Linked DNA regions of Homo sapiens: all the other regions are linked to region 1. The links are contacts of gene promoters, found by promoter capture Hi-C in blood cells and fetal thymus (Javierre and others, 2016). All regions are on one chromosome and are shown on one strand. The core of a region is centred on a gene start or on the middle of the fragment in contact, and the rest is flanking DNA. Distances in the headings are between cores, read along the strand shown. Region 1 has its middle 25 kb from the start of RGS10. Region 2 holds the start of GRK5 (G protein-coupled receptor kinase 5). Region 3 holds the start of SFXN4 (sideroflexin 4).

Evidence for each region. The method cuts DNA at HindIII sites, captures the fragments that hold promoters and counts their contacts. A CHiCAGO score of 5 or more calls a contact.
Region 2: the fragment with the promoter of GRK5 here is called in contact with a fragment that was not itself captured in region 1 in 5 of 17 cell types (naive CD4 T cells, naive CD8 T cells, non-activated CD4 T cells and 2 more); the score reaches 6.9 in naive CD4 T cells.
Region 3: a contact is called between the fragment with the promoter of SFXN4 here and a fragment that was not itself captured in region 1, in 13 of 17 cell types (fetal thymus, naive CD8 T cells, endothelial precursors and 10 more). The highest score is 7.9, in fetal thymus.

The regions. Positions count from the first base shown.
Region 1 is chr10:119,564,988-119,569,481 of GRCh38, forward strand. No RefSeq gene overlaps it. Among named protein-coding and RNA genes, the nearest start is that of RGS10, 25 kb to the left of the region's middle. The HindIII fragment of the contact is 6,245 bases long and covers 1-4,494 here.
Region 2 is chr10:119,205,372-119,210,245 of GRCh38, forward strand. GRK5 (G protein-coupled receptor kinase 5) reads left to right here and starts at 2,200. Exons shown (of 16, transcript NM_005308.3): 1 at 2,200-2,598. The coding sequence starts at 2,547. GRK5-IT1 (GRK5 intronic transcript 1) reads left to right here and starts at 3,050. Exons shown (of 2, transcript NR_186528.1): 1 at 3,050-3,279. RefSeq lists enhancers at 707-786, 897-946, 967-1,076 and silencers at 1,417-2,246, 2,457-2,526, 2,577-2,626. The HindIII fragment of the contact is 5,116 bases long and covers 1-4,696 here.
Region 3 is chr10:119,164,452-119,168,988 of GRCh38, forward strand. SFXN4 (sideroflexin 4) reads right to left here and starts at 1,263. Exons shown (of 14, transcript NM_213649.2): 1 at 1,086-1,263. The coding sequence starts at 1,196. PRDX3 (peroxiredoxin 3) reads right to left here. Exons shown (of 7, transcript NM_006793.5): 7 at 3,269-4,082. The coding sequence ends at 4,029. RefSeq lists silencers at 714-900, 942-1,411. The HindIII fragment of the contact is 6,667 bases long and covers 1-3,667 here.

The DNA.
Region 1 (4,494 bases), core at 380-2,879:
TGATCTCGGTTCACTGCAACTTCCACCTCCTCAGTTCAAGCGATTCTCCTGCCTCAGCCTCCCGAGTAGCTGGGATTACAGGTGTGCACCACCAGTCTTGGCTAATTTTTGTATTTTTAGTAGAGATGGGGTTTCACCATGACGGCCAGGCTGGTCTTGAACTCCTGACCTCAAGAGATCTGCCTGCCTTGGCCTCCCAAAGGCGTGAGCCACCATGCCTGGTTAGATGTTGGTTTAGACTAGGGTAAGAAGAACCATAAAGTGATCCATTTATGTTTTTTGTTCGTTTCCAATTTTCCATTTTGTAACCACTTTAGTAAATATAATACAATCATCAGCAAATCTAATGTCAAAACGAAGCATTTTCTTGAAAGAGTAAATTTCAGTAAGCCTATATATAGCTGCGAATGAATGTAGGTAACTTCCAGGTATATTAAAAATTAAAACTTTCGTATTTGACAGCACAAATAGAATCCCGGTACTAATTTAAGACCTAACCAGATTAGGAATACAAAATATACGGCCAGGTGCCGTGGCTCACACCTGTAATCCTAACACTTTGAAAGAGGCTGAGGTGGGTGGATCACTTGAGGTCAGGAGTTCAAGACCAGCCTGGCCAATATGGTGAAACCCTATCTCTACTAAAAATACAAAAATTAGCCAGGCGTGGTGTCAGGTGCCTGTAATCCCAGCTACTTGGGAGGCTGAGGCAGGAGAATCGCTTGAACCCAGGAGGCGGAGGCTGCAGTGAGCCGAGATCGCATACCACTGCAGTCCAGCCTGGGCAACAAAGGGAGACTGTGTCTAAAAAACAAACAAACAAATAGAAACAATATATAAGCCACTCAAGAAACATTTATCCTTCATGATACAAGGGCAAACTGGCCAGGCATGGTGGCTTACACCTGTATTTCCAACACTTTGGGAGGCTGAGACACGAGGACTGCTTGAGCCCAGGAGTTCAAGACTAGCCTGGGCAACATATTGAGACTCTGTCTCTACAAAAAATAAATAAAAGCTGGGCACGATGGTGCACATTTGTAGTCCCAGCTACTTGGGAGGCTGCACTGGGAGGATTGCTTGGGCCCAGAATATCAAGGCAGTAATGAGCCATAATCACACCACTGCACTCCAGCCCCCCAAAAAGGGCAAACCAAATTCTAAATAACATACTACTTTAATTGTGCCTTCACATGGGGAACATCAAACAGTCAAATGTCAACACTCAAATTGCCTACTGTTTTCCTAGGATTGCTACAAGTCTTTTATAATTTGTCTTATTCTCACTTAAACAATTAAGAAACTTCTTTCTAATCCAACTAGTTTATCAGCAAATATGCTGAAGCACAAGCTGACTTCAGATGTCTGTGCTATATATATATATATTTTTTCCACTTCAAGAATCTCAACTGTGTCACTTCCCATGGCTAGTTCCATTTTTGTCTGTTATACTCAGATGTTGCCTGTCCAGAAACCCAGTTCTGCTGTGCTAGCAGCCCCTCTTCCTAAAACATGGCCCAGGATCACCCACATTCTTGGAGTGATATGCAGAAGTAGTTATGGTTCCTACCTGGCACACACCCAGCACATTCCCATTAGGAGTGCATCCTAATCATCTTTGTTCTTGTTGTTTTGAGACAGGGTCTCGCTCTGTCGTCCAGGCTGGAGTGCAGTGGCACAACCAGGGCTCACTGCAGCCTTGAAATCCTGAGCTCAAACAATCTTCCCACCTCAGCCTCCCAAGTAGATGGGACCCACAGGGGCATGCCACCATGCCTGGGTTTTTTTTGTTTTGTTTTTGAGACAGGGTCTCACTACATTGTCCAGACTGGCCTTGAACTCCTGGCCTCAAGCAATCCTCCCACCTCAGTTTCCCAAAGTGCTGGATTACAAGTGTGAGCCACTGTGGCCAGCCCTGACCACTGCTGAAAGATGCTTGGCAAACTACATTGCATAGCAGTAATGGATAACATTAACTACAAAAAAACCTAGATTTTAAAAAATCTGTACTTTTGAAAAAAAGAAAAACACCTAGTTTTTGTGAAAAATGTGTAACCATGGCTAGTAGTTTTAATCTCCCAAGCCAGGAAGAAAAAAGAAATCTAGGCCAATTAATTTAATTTTAATTACTTTTTTATTTATTTTTGAGAGGGAGTCTCGCTTTGTTACCCAGGCTGGAGTGCAGTGGTGTGATCTCAGCTCATTGAAACCTCCAACTCCAAGGTTCAGGCAATTCTCCTGCCTCAGCCTCTAGAGTAGCTGGGACTGCAGGTATGTGCCACCATGTCCAGCTAATTTTTGTATTTTTAGTAGAGACAGGGTTTCGCCATTTTGGCCAGGCTGGTCTTGAACTCCTGGACTCAAGTGATCTGCTTGCCTTGGCCTCCCAAAGTGCTGGGATTACAGGCATGAGCCACCACACTCAGCCAATTTTTTTTTTTTTTTTTTTTTTTTTTTTTTGAGACGGAGTCTCGCCCTGTTGCCCAGGCTGGAGTGCAGTGACACAATCTCAGCTCACTGCAAACTCCACCTCCCAGATTCAAGCAATTCTTCCATCTGTCTCCCGAGTAGCTGGGATTACAGGCATACACCATCATGCCTGGCTAGTTTTTTGTATTTTCAGTAGAGACGGGGTTTCACCATGTTGGCCAGGCTGGTCTCGAACTCCTGACCTCAGGTGATCCACCCACCTCGGCCTCCCAAAGTGCTGGAATTACAGGTGTGAGCCACCACGCTCGGCCCCGATTTATTTATTTATTTTTTGAGACAGAGTCTCGCTCTGTTGCTCAGGCTGAAGTACAGTGGCACAATCTCAGCTCACTGCAACCTCTGCCTCTCAGGTTCAAGCAATTGTCGTGCCTCAGCCTCCCGAGTAGCTGGGACTACAGGCATGCACCACTATGCTCAGCTAATTTTTGTATCTTCAGTAGAGATGCGGTTGTGCCATGTTGGCCAGGCAGGTATCGAACTCCTGGCTTCAAGTGATCCACCTGCCTCGGCCTCCGTAAGTGCTGGGATTTCAGGCGTGAGCCACCGGCGCCCCGCCAGGCCAATTAATTTTATTTCAGACTACCTTCACCCACAACTGCAGAGTCTCAGAATCTACCTTTTCACAAGCACCCCACCAATTCTGATCAAGTTCTACTCAAATAGAACACGAGGTAATGTTCTGGTTTCAAGAGGGAGACTAAATAAAATACATGTTTACTTTCATTTCCTCTTATCATATTAATGTATTTAACATTTACTGAACACCTACCACATGCCAAGAACTGTTACAAGTACTAGAATTTGTGTAGTTAACAAACCAAGTCCCTGCCTTCGGGGAGCTTCAACCAAGGAATGAAGTTATCCATTTTTAAAAAATAAAATATATCCCTGGGTATAAGAAATGTGGATTTTAAAGGACATCCTAATCCCTGTCATTTTACTGAAAATGCTCAAAGGCAACTATTGTAAAACAGGACCATTTGCCCAACATTCTAATACACAAGTAGAACCCATATTGCTAAATAAAAACATACCTTAAAGGAAATTGAAAACAAACTATCAGGGCCATCTATCAGCAAACATGTTGGTAATATTTCATTTTCAATAGGCTGGTAAGTCTCCTGGTAAGTCTTCTAGTCTTGATAAAGTGTACACAGTCTTAAACCAGGAACATATTACATATCAACACCCCACCCGATTATCCATTCATGGCTTACTACACCTGCCCAGAATTGTCTAGTCTCAGGTTAATGTGCTCCTGAATCAAGGACTTATCCCTCCTTCATCATCCTTCGTCACTTTTTCCCCAATCTGAACCCTTATTAAACAAAGTATGAGTTATGCCATCTGCTAAAATATAACCTAGCCAGAGAAAATTAAAAATGTTTTTCAAGTTTAGTCCTCTTCAAAAAGTAGCAAGCTAAGATGATTAAATGTGTAGTCTCATTTTTTAAAAAGCTGTTAAGACTTACACATTAGCTTTATTTTTGTGAGCAAAAGCAATCGTACAAACCCAATATGGAACAACTCAATTCTTAACTTGTAACCAGTAAAGTGAACTGAATGTGAAAACCTGAAATTTATACAATAATTCTCAGAACATGCACAGTTGCATATGGCTACGTATTTCATGCTTTATTTTGTCTAGATGGTTTCAGACTTCTCTTTGCTGGTATACCAAAACGTAAGGAAGAAAGATAAAGGACCAGGAAAAAAAATTACACTTGGGCAAGTTATGGTATCTGCTGATTTTATACAGCAAAATCTGGTTTACCTTAACAATGCTGTAATTCTATAGCACCATGACAACCAGGCTTTTTGCAAAACTCTTGTCAGTTCCCAAGAAGGAAGGAAAGTGAAAAGAGGAGACCCACGGGCAAGCTAAGCCTCGCTGGAAGATCAACAACTGGACAGCTCACTCCTGAGATTCCTTTCCAGCATACAGTCGCCCTGGCTTTCCTCAAACGCTATCCAAAAGCACTTCAGTTTGATTCATGTTTGCAA
Region 2 (4,874 bases), core at 950-3,449, 360 kb before region 1:
GACAGAGTAACTGTCTCAAAACAAAACAAAACAAAAAAACAAACAAAAACAACCTTTGAGAAAATTGTTTTTTTTTTTTTTTTTTTTTTTTGGTTCGGAGTCTCGCTCTGTCGCCCAGGCTGGAGTGCAGTGGCGCGATCTCGGCTCATTGCAACCTCCGTCTCCCGGGTTCACGCCATTCTCCTGCCTCAGCCTCCTGAATAGCTGGGACTACAGGAGCCCAACACCACGCCCGGCTATTTTTTTTTTGTATTTTTAGTAGAGACAGGGTTTCACTGTTAGCCAGGATGGTCTCGATCTCCTGACCTCGTGATCCTCCCGCCTCGGCCTCCCAAAGTGCTGGGATTACAGGCGTAAGCCACCGCGCCCGGCCCAAGAAAATTGTTAAGGTGCATAAGCCATCTAAAGGCATTCAAAAATTTTCTTTCTTTTTTTTTTTATGTTAGCCGAATAAACAAACTTCGGGCTTCATCAGGCCCTATGCTGCCAGCAAGTGACCAGCGTGGTTGGTGGAGGGCTCTAGGAGCTGCCAGCTTTAGGGGTCTCGCTGTCTGAGAGAGATCCTTTCATTAAAGGTTAGGGCTCTAGGCACGTGAATATGTAGCAAAGACCAAGCCTGGATTGCTTAGAACAGTAATTCCTGGAGTGGTAAGTGCCTGAAAAGTTACCCGCTGAGCCCTCCGCCTTCTGACAGGTAAACTGTTGTTGCCCCCATTTTGCAGACAAGATAAATGAGGCCCTGGGAGACTCACTGACCCAAGTCTAGACACCAGGAAGTGGTGGTGGTGGGTATACTCCCCCAGGAAAGCAGGTAATCTTGGGTTGTTACAATCAGTGACCAGACCAGTTTCCAAGGCCTGGAAGGTTTATTGATTTCTTTATATTCTCCAATGCATAATAACTGTTCTCTGTTTCTCTCGGCACCTCCCTGCGACTTCCTGGCAGCCCTGGGGACAGAGGGTTTCCTCCTTCTGGACAGAGAAGGCCCAGAGTCGGCTTCTGAACGGATATCCGGCCCGCAGGATGCAGAGGAGGCAAAGGCCTCATTGTTCTTTGGGGCCTGCCTGCCCCGCCCCCAGCTGTAGGACACTCGTGGCAGATCCCGGGTGACCGAAGACAGCCCATTTCCAGGAGTGGGGCCTTCGGAGCGGAGGGAGCAAGGAAACGGGGCTGAGCACAGACCTGGAGTCTGATGTTCTGAGCATAACACTGGAAGGAGCTAAGAGCCCCAAAATAAATAAGACCGGAATTTAAAAACGTTAATCCCACGCCGGCTTGGCGCTGGCCTGGCTGTTACTCATTAACGCTCCCCACGGCGGAGACTCCGGCGACTCCGTCTGCGTTTTTATTACTTAATCTGGCTGGGTTTGGCTGCAGGGAGGCTCGTGGATTTGCTGGCCGGGTGTGCTGGAAGGCAGTTTATTCACAGAATAAGCAGCTTCCCACGCTGGACCCTGAGCCCCAGGCGCCGTCCGCGTAGACCCCGCGCCGCGCACCGCGGCCGGCGGGGGGCGCTCGGGTCGCACCGAGAGCAGCGCGGGCAGCCAGCGCCGGGTCGCAGCCGACCCGCAGAGCCCTTCGCGCCCTCCGAGGAAACAAAGTGCATCTTTGTCCGCGGCCCGAGGCGCCGCGTGGGAGACGCTGGGCAGGGGCCAGGCCGGGCCGGCCGCCGCCGCGTGCGGGGACCCTGGGCGCGCGTCACTGACCCGGGACTCAGACCCTCGCGGGCCTGGCGCGGACCGGAGGAAGCGGGCTGTGGCGCGCGGCCGAGCTGGCAGCCCTCCCACTCCGAGCACGGCTCGGGACCCGCACTGGCTCCTGCCGGGCCGCGGCGCTTCACGCGCCGTCACCGGGGCCCGTGCACTCCGCTTTCCGGGCTGGCGACGGGGCGGGAAGGGGGCAAGCGGGAGCCTGCGGGGGGGTGCTGGGGACTTCGGCTTGGCTGGGCCGCCTTTGAGTCGCCTGTCGGCCGGGCGGTGCCCGCCTTCGCTTTCGGTGCCGTCCCGGGGCGGGTCCTCGCTCCGACAGCCGCGCGCCAGCCCAGCTCAGCCCCGGCGCCGCGCGGCCGGGAGGACTCCAGCTCCCAGCAGGCCCCGCGCCGCGAGCACCGAGGCAGGAGGCGCGCCTGGGCCGGCGCTTGCGCAGTGCGGCCGCCCGAGCCTGCTAGTACCACACCCCCGGGAGGGACTGAGGGGAGGCAGAAGCATCCGAGGCATTAAAGCATCCGAGGGAGCCGGAGGGGAGGAGAATGGAGTGACAGAGACACGCGGAGGGTGGGGGGTGGGGGGGAGCGTGTTGAGGGAGGGGGGAGGGGGGACACAGAGGGAGGAAGAAGCGGCGGCGGCGGCGGCGGCGGCGGCGGCTCCTCTTTGCAGAGGGGGAAACTCTTGGGCTGAGAGCAGGAATAATGCGGTAGGCAAGGCGGGCTGCTGGCTCCCCCGGCTCCGGCAGCAGCGGCGGCAGCCCGAGCAGCGGCAGCAGCAGCGGCAGCACCCCAGGCGCTGACAGCCCCGCCGGCCGGCTCCGTTGCTGACCGCCGACTGTCAATGGAGCTGGAAAACATCGTGGCCAACACGGTCTTGCTGAAAGCCAGGGAAGGTAAGAGGCAGGGCCGGTACGTGCCCGGCGCGTCCGCCGCGGGCCAGGGTGCGGGTGTCGGGTGGCGTGCGGGCTGGGGCTGCGCCCGTGCAGGATGCCCGCTGCCGGCGAGTGGGTCGCGAGCAGGACACTTCGGAGAGCGGCTCTGCAGACCCTTCAGGGTTCCTGCCTTGGGGCTCAGAGAATCTGGACTTGGGCTGAGAAGGTTGCAGGGATTTGGATGCTAACATATCTCCTAGTTTCCAGCGCTCGCCCTGCAGAGCGTGCCATCTCGGCAGCTGTTGAAAGGTCAGTTGGAAAAGCATTCATTCGGGGAGCGACGAGCAAACATGCACATAAAATAGCGTTTCAAGTCGGCCCGGGATGGTTCTGTGTGAACTGGTGTGTGTGTTCGAGGGGCGGGGGTGGAATGAGCAGAAGCCAAGTCTTTGCCTGCGCAGGCTGAGTTGATATAGACTATTGCTGGAAACCATCCGCTGGGATGTTTCTTAGGGAAATCCCGTCGTGTGGAAGGAAGCCTTTTAAAGGCAAAGTCAGATGTTGAGGAATTAGCCTTTTCATAGAATTATCAAAGGATGGCTGTACAGACCACCTAGAAAATAATTCAGTATTTCAGGTTTTTCTTTTCTGGGAGTGTGATAACTGAAATTGTTAGATTTTGGCTCAGTTAAGAAAAGAAAGGTAAGTGTGCTGGTGCTTTAGATACGTTTTCTATGCAAATCATTAGATTTCCTGCATTTAGCTGGCAGGAAATATTGTCTAAATGGAGTGTGTAAGATCCTGAGTCAAACCCTAAGAACGCATATTTTGACTCTTCCTTTTGATGAAAAACAGAAAAAAGGGGGGGGAGGCAGAAACTTGGGTGCTTCCTGAAATGATTGTGTTGTGTCCATGTAAACATATGTATTTAGGAATACCTGGAATTTATGTCGCATATTTTCCTTTTTTTTTTCTGGTCAAGATTTGAGCTCTAGTGTGCGACCTTTTTCATAAAAGGGGAAGAGGTTTTTCCCTTTCACGGGAGAACGCTTTATTTGATACAAGGTAGAAGGCAGACTGAGTAAGGGCTTGAGTTTAGAAGGATACTCGGTGAGCAGCCCATGAAAATGTCTTACCTGCTTAATATTTTCATTCACCTACTTTGATGAATGAAGGGAAGAATTTCTGGCCAGCAATAAAACGATTCGTGTTTATTCAGCCCGTTCCATCACCTTGTGGCTCCCTACACACTGTGGGGGTAGGTGATGCATAGCCTTCCGTGGGCAGCGTTTCAGCAACTCAACCCGGCATTCGTGTCTTACTTTCGTCGTCACTTGTCACTCTAAAGCAGCCAGTGGGCAAGAAGGTTTATTTCAGAAGCCCCGAAGGGAGGCAGTGCTTTGAAAACCCCAGCAGAGTTTAAAATATTCAGGTTAGTCTCCCTCCCATTGCTTAGCTTTGGTGGGAATAAATTTTTAGGAGAGGCTTGTTACTTGGTGACTTCAGGTTCTAAGGCCTGAGCTGTGTGTGTGTGTGTGGTTTTTTTTTTTTTTTTTTTTTTTTTTTCCTAACCTGACATTTTTAGTGGACAGGATCTAGGTGGGTGCTGGTAGGCTCTCCTCTGGGTTGGGGAATGGTCCTGAAAGGGAGGAAGCAGAGAAAACAGCCCTCCACCTCCCCCGCCCCTCTTTCAGCCTTTGCAGCTGGCCACCTAGTGGTGGGACACGGTTGTGTATCTCAGGATTCGGGGGCTGGGAAAGTTTTCACTCTCGCTCCATTCTGAAATTATTTCTTGGGAAATCACTGGGTCTGATGGTACTGGAGCCTTGCAAGTTTCGCTGGTTCCTCCTGTTGCCCAGGGAATCTGCCCCCGACATTTGCTGCTGTAGATATTTGTTTGCCTGATAGATGCTTTTTTTCTTCCCTGAGCATTTGGTTGCTTCTTTTATAATGCTTTGCTTAGAGTGGGCAAAGTGATATCAATTCCACCCGCCCCCTCCAAATTGTTCTCCCCAGTATTTTTTCACCAACGTGAATTTACTGTCTGATATTGTTGTTCGTTAGGCCAACAAATTGGGTTTTTTTCCCAGAGCCTTGGAGAAGAGAGCTGCAGGCTGGAAGCTTGTGTGGAGTGACCGACTCCCATTGGGGCAGAATTACAGTGATTGAAAGTGCTCAAGAATGTGCCTTTCACTTTTTTTTTTCCTTTTAAAGGCTTTTTCAATTTTGCTGTGAGAGTTTGGTCGTCATCTCATGGTGAGAAAATAGCTCTTGATGATGCCTTGGAAATGGAGAGG
Region 3 (4,537 bases), core at 13-2,512, 400 kb before region 1:
CTCAGTATCAAATTGCCCTTGAGGGTTAAAATCCCAGACTTTGGGGGTTCAAATGGTCTTACGTTCATATCTCACATACGACCTCGAAGCAATGGCCTAGAATATCTCAAGAGTCTGTGGCCTCACTCTCTGCTTGCTATAAGGCTTCACTCCAGTGACAAAGGATGGACGCCCCATTAAGGGCTCAATGGTGCAGCTGGGGTCACACTGGGGAAAAAGAGGTTTGCTCCAGCAAACTCTAAACTTTGTAGTGGTTCTGGCTTTAAGCCTTGGCTCTGCTGGAGCAACCTGAGCTCACCGCCCCTTCTCAATTTCCCCACCTAAAAAAAAAACAGGGCTGGACCCCACTTTAGGAGAGGCCTCAAAGAGAACCCCCTAAAGCCCTGCTCTCCAATTCGCCACATGCGGCTGAACCCAGATGTGCTGTGAAGGTAACAGACGCCGGATTTGGAACACTCTGTACCAAAAAAGCGAGTAAAATATCTCAGCAATGTTTTTTACTGATTACATGTTGAAATGTTAATATTTTGCACCTGCTAGGCTAAATGTACTGTATTGTTAAAAATTTCAGCTGTTTTTATCTTGTTTAATGTGGCTACTAGAAAATGTTTAATTACCTGTAAGGCTCACATCATATTTCTATTGGACGGTGCTGCCCTAGACGCTGCAGGGAGATAAGTCCTGCTTATGTCCTGCCCAAGGGTGGCTTCCCAAAGCCTCGGGGGTCTCACCGAAAGTGGCTGAGCTTACCAAGGTGCGAGAGCCTGTTTCTCCCCAATCTGCTGCTCAGCCACAGCTCAGGCAGTAGGGAGCAGCCACCTGCGCGGACTGGGCCCCTCCGAGAGGGCAATCTGGAGGGTGACGTTGTGGTCGTGGGCATCTGGCAGCTTCGATTTCCCCTGCGTCCCCTGCCGCGCCCTAAGGGGTGAAGGCCGGTGGTGCGCGTTCCCGGCACAACTCCGAGAGGAGGAAACGGAGACAGGGGGCGCCCACGTGGCCTGGCCAAGGTCACCCGGGTCAGCCCGACTCCACGCGGCCCGGCCCGCCCCCTCCCTGCCCCTAGTCGCGCCGGGCCCGGGCCGTACTTGGCGCTCGGTGATCCAGAAGCGCACGTTGGGCTCAATGAAGGCGGGGACGGCGTCTCTGCGTCCTAGGAGCCGCCCAGGTTGCGTTTCCTCCTCCTGTTCCAGGGACATTTTGCGCTGGTTAGAGTGGCCGCCGCCGCCAGGCCGCGCGTGGAGGAGGAGCCGGGCGGCGAGCCCCGCCCCGGGCCGCGCGCACCCGCAGTTCCCGCCCCAGGCCCGCGCGCCCGACGTCCCGTGTCACAGCGCCTCGGGGCCCTTGCGCGCCCACTGTTCCGGCGAGCGCAGCTCTCCCACGGGCCACGTCCTCCCAACCCTGCTTGCCCTGCTCCGCACCTTTGGGGAGCCGGGCCGTCTCCAGGCCCCAAGGGGTCACTATCGGAACCCGTCATCACAGTACCTAATGCGAAGACCCGGAAAGGTTGTGAGTGAGGCCGTCCGCAACCTCACCCTGCGCTTCTGCCGCGCCCTACCCCTGGTCATTACCCTCGAAAATCCCTCCGATGGCCCACGAATTCCAGTGTGCATGGTGTTGCGCAGTCAGGCCGGCTGCATCATGGTCTCAGCCCAGGGAAAATGTCAAATGCGGTGCCCCTTATTCATGTTACTGAGAATTTCAAGAGAGTAACACCAGAGCATCAAACCAAGTATAGGGCCCTGGGCACAGTGCACTATCCCTCAGCCCAACAGGTTGTTTTTTTTTTTCTTCCAGTGTTGGGGCAAATCCAGTTCCTTTTGTTGACTACCAAATAGGTACCATTTGTAAAGAAAAACCTGCCTTCCCTTCCTCCTCCCACCTGCCCTTCCCCAGCACAGGGCCAGGCGGGGGCTGTGTGCACTTAAATTCACGGAAGCCACAAGTGTGCCTAGGTCGTTCAGGGGGCCTCCGGAGTCCAGGACTGGGGGACCCAGCACATCATCTAGTTGTGTGACCCTCGCCAAGTCAGTATCTCGAAGTCTATTTTCCCATCCGCAAAATGAGGATAACAATTGTACCTATCTCAGGGTTTTGTTTCTGATCAAAGGAGATAAAACATCCCTAACACAGCACTGAGCCCTCAGAAGTGCTCAGTATTGGCCATTAACCTCCAGCGGGCCAATTCCTTCCCTTGCCCTGCGCCTCCAGGAACAGGAAATTGGCTCATGGCGTCCTTCAGGCCTGTATGACTCTGCTTCTGTATTTGCTCAGTTTGCCTAGCTCACTTTTCTTAACCTCCAGGGGTTTATCTCCTCTTCCAGGAAGCCTTCCCTGACCCTCCGAGTTGAGTAAGGTGCCCCCTCCACTTCTACCCTTATGCCGCAGAAATCCATCTAAGCACCAGTGCAGTATGTAGCGTGCTGTTCTATTCTGTTGTCTCTACCCTCCAGGATGTCACAAAGCCAGCCCGCTGGCCTGCTTCCCCACTTTGGACTGCTATGTCGTCTTAACAAAGGAGCCAGAGTGATTCTCTTAGAACAAGTTGATGTCACTCTTCTTTTCAAATCCTTCCTGACATTCCCCACCCCAGAACAGAACCTAAAGTCCTTGGCCTGGCCAAAAGGCACTCTGGGACCCCCACCACAGCCATAGTCACCGGCCTCCTAGTAAATCTGCATCCGCTCTGAGCCCACTCTTGCCTCACGGCCTTTGTGTTTTCCCTGCCCTCTGCCTAGAAGTCTCTTATCCCCGTAATACTCTCACTTTCTACGCGTTTTCTCTCCCTCGATGCTCATCAAAACCCTGAGATAAGTACAATTATTGTCCTCATTTTACAATGAGAAAATTGATCCAGAGAGGCTCTCCCTTAAGGCCTTCCTTGACAACCCCATCTAGAACACCTACAACTCCGCTTCAGCAGTTTCACTCCACATTATTTTCCTTCCAAACACTCTACTTTTACTACATGTATGAGGTGTTTCCCCTCTAGAATGTAAGAGCTTAAAAGCAGGGGTTTGTCCGTTGTTCGCTCTTGTGCCTGGAAAACAGCACCTGGTGCGGGGTAGGCACTCAAGGATTTACTGAAACAACGAGAAAATGTTTCCCTATCTGTCTTGCCCCTAAACCGAGTTCCTTGAGTGCGGAACCAGCATCTTATTCTCTTTGTGGCCCCTGAGGTAAATGCTCAATAAATGTTTGTTGATAATCTGAGAAGGAAAGGAGAGCCCAAAATAAGCTGATCCAACAGTTACTGGTGGTAAAATGCAAATGTTTTAAAATATGTTTATTTTGTATGTTTTACAATGAATACTTCAGCAAAGAAAATAATTATAATTTCAAAATGCAATCCCTGGATTTGATAAATATCCTTTATAATCGATTACACTAATCAATATCTAGAAATATACATAGACAAAGTTAGCTAATGAATAAAATAAGTAAAATGACTACATAAACTCAATTTCAGGGATGAGGGATCATGCATGATCAGTTAAGTCACTCTGCCACTTTTTAAAATAATACGATTCACATTTGCTTCAATCACATAAACATTCATTGCAGGAGTTACACGGCTAATCATTGAAAATTATGATCTTTGTTAGCTTAAAAGAAAATTCAGTTTAATACAAAGACATTCAAGATGAAAATTTCAGGACCGTTGATCAGAAGCTTTCAATGTGTGTTGCTCTACTTTATTATAGGCAAGATTCAAGTAAGGCTAAGAAAGAAGAGTGTTTCCATTGAGACATGATCTAAGAATAGCCTTCTATAGAGGCAAATTATGTTCTGTAGAAACTAGCTAGCCAGCCACCAAGATGTTACCAATAAAGGATTCCTTGTACTAGCAACTAACCATGTTTAAAAGGTCTTAGCCAGAATTACAAAAACAAAACATTTAGAGTAATACTTATGAATACAAGCATAATTGGTTCCTTGCCTTCTACAAATAACCATCTTGAAAATGATAAAAGCAGGTTTCAACTGTGGTTCTTCTCTCAGTTGAGAAGGTGCAGATACACATGGGTGATCTACTGATTTACCTTCTGAAAGTACTCTTTGGAAGCAGCTGGACTTGGCTTGATCTGAAAATACAAAAGCTTAATTAGGTAACTGTGACTTTACCATAATAATAGTCCCAAAAGTGAGTGGCAATCTCCCAATTTTTAACCTAAAGTTCTTTAAACTTTTAAAGATTTCCTTTAAAACATAAAGATGAAAGTTTCATTAAGGCCTGCCTGTCTCTAGGCCGGGCACGGTGGCTCACGCCGGTAATCCCAGCACTTTGGGAGGCCAAGGCGGGTGGATCACGAGGTCAGGAGATCCAGACCATCCTGGCTAACACGGTGAAACCCCGTCTCTACTAAAATTCAAAAAATTAGCCGTGGTGGTGGGCGCCCTGTAGTCCCAGCTACTCAGGAGGCTGAGGCAGGACAATGGCGTGAACCCAGGAGGCGGAGCTTGCAGTGAGCTGAGAGAGCGCCACTGCACTCCAGCCTGGGCGAGAGCAAGACTCCGTCTCAAAAAAAAAAAAAAAGGC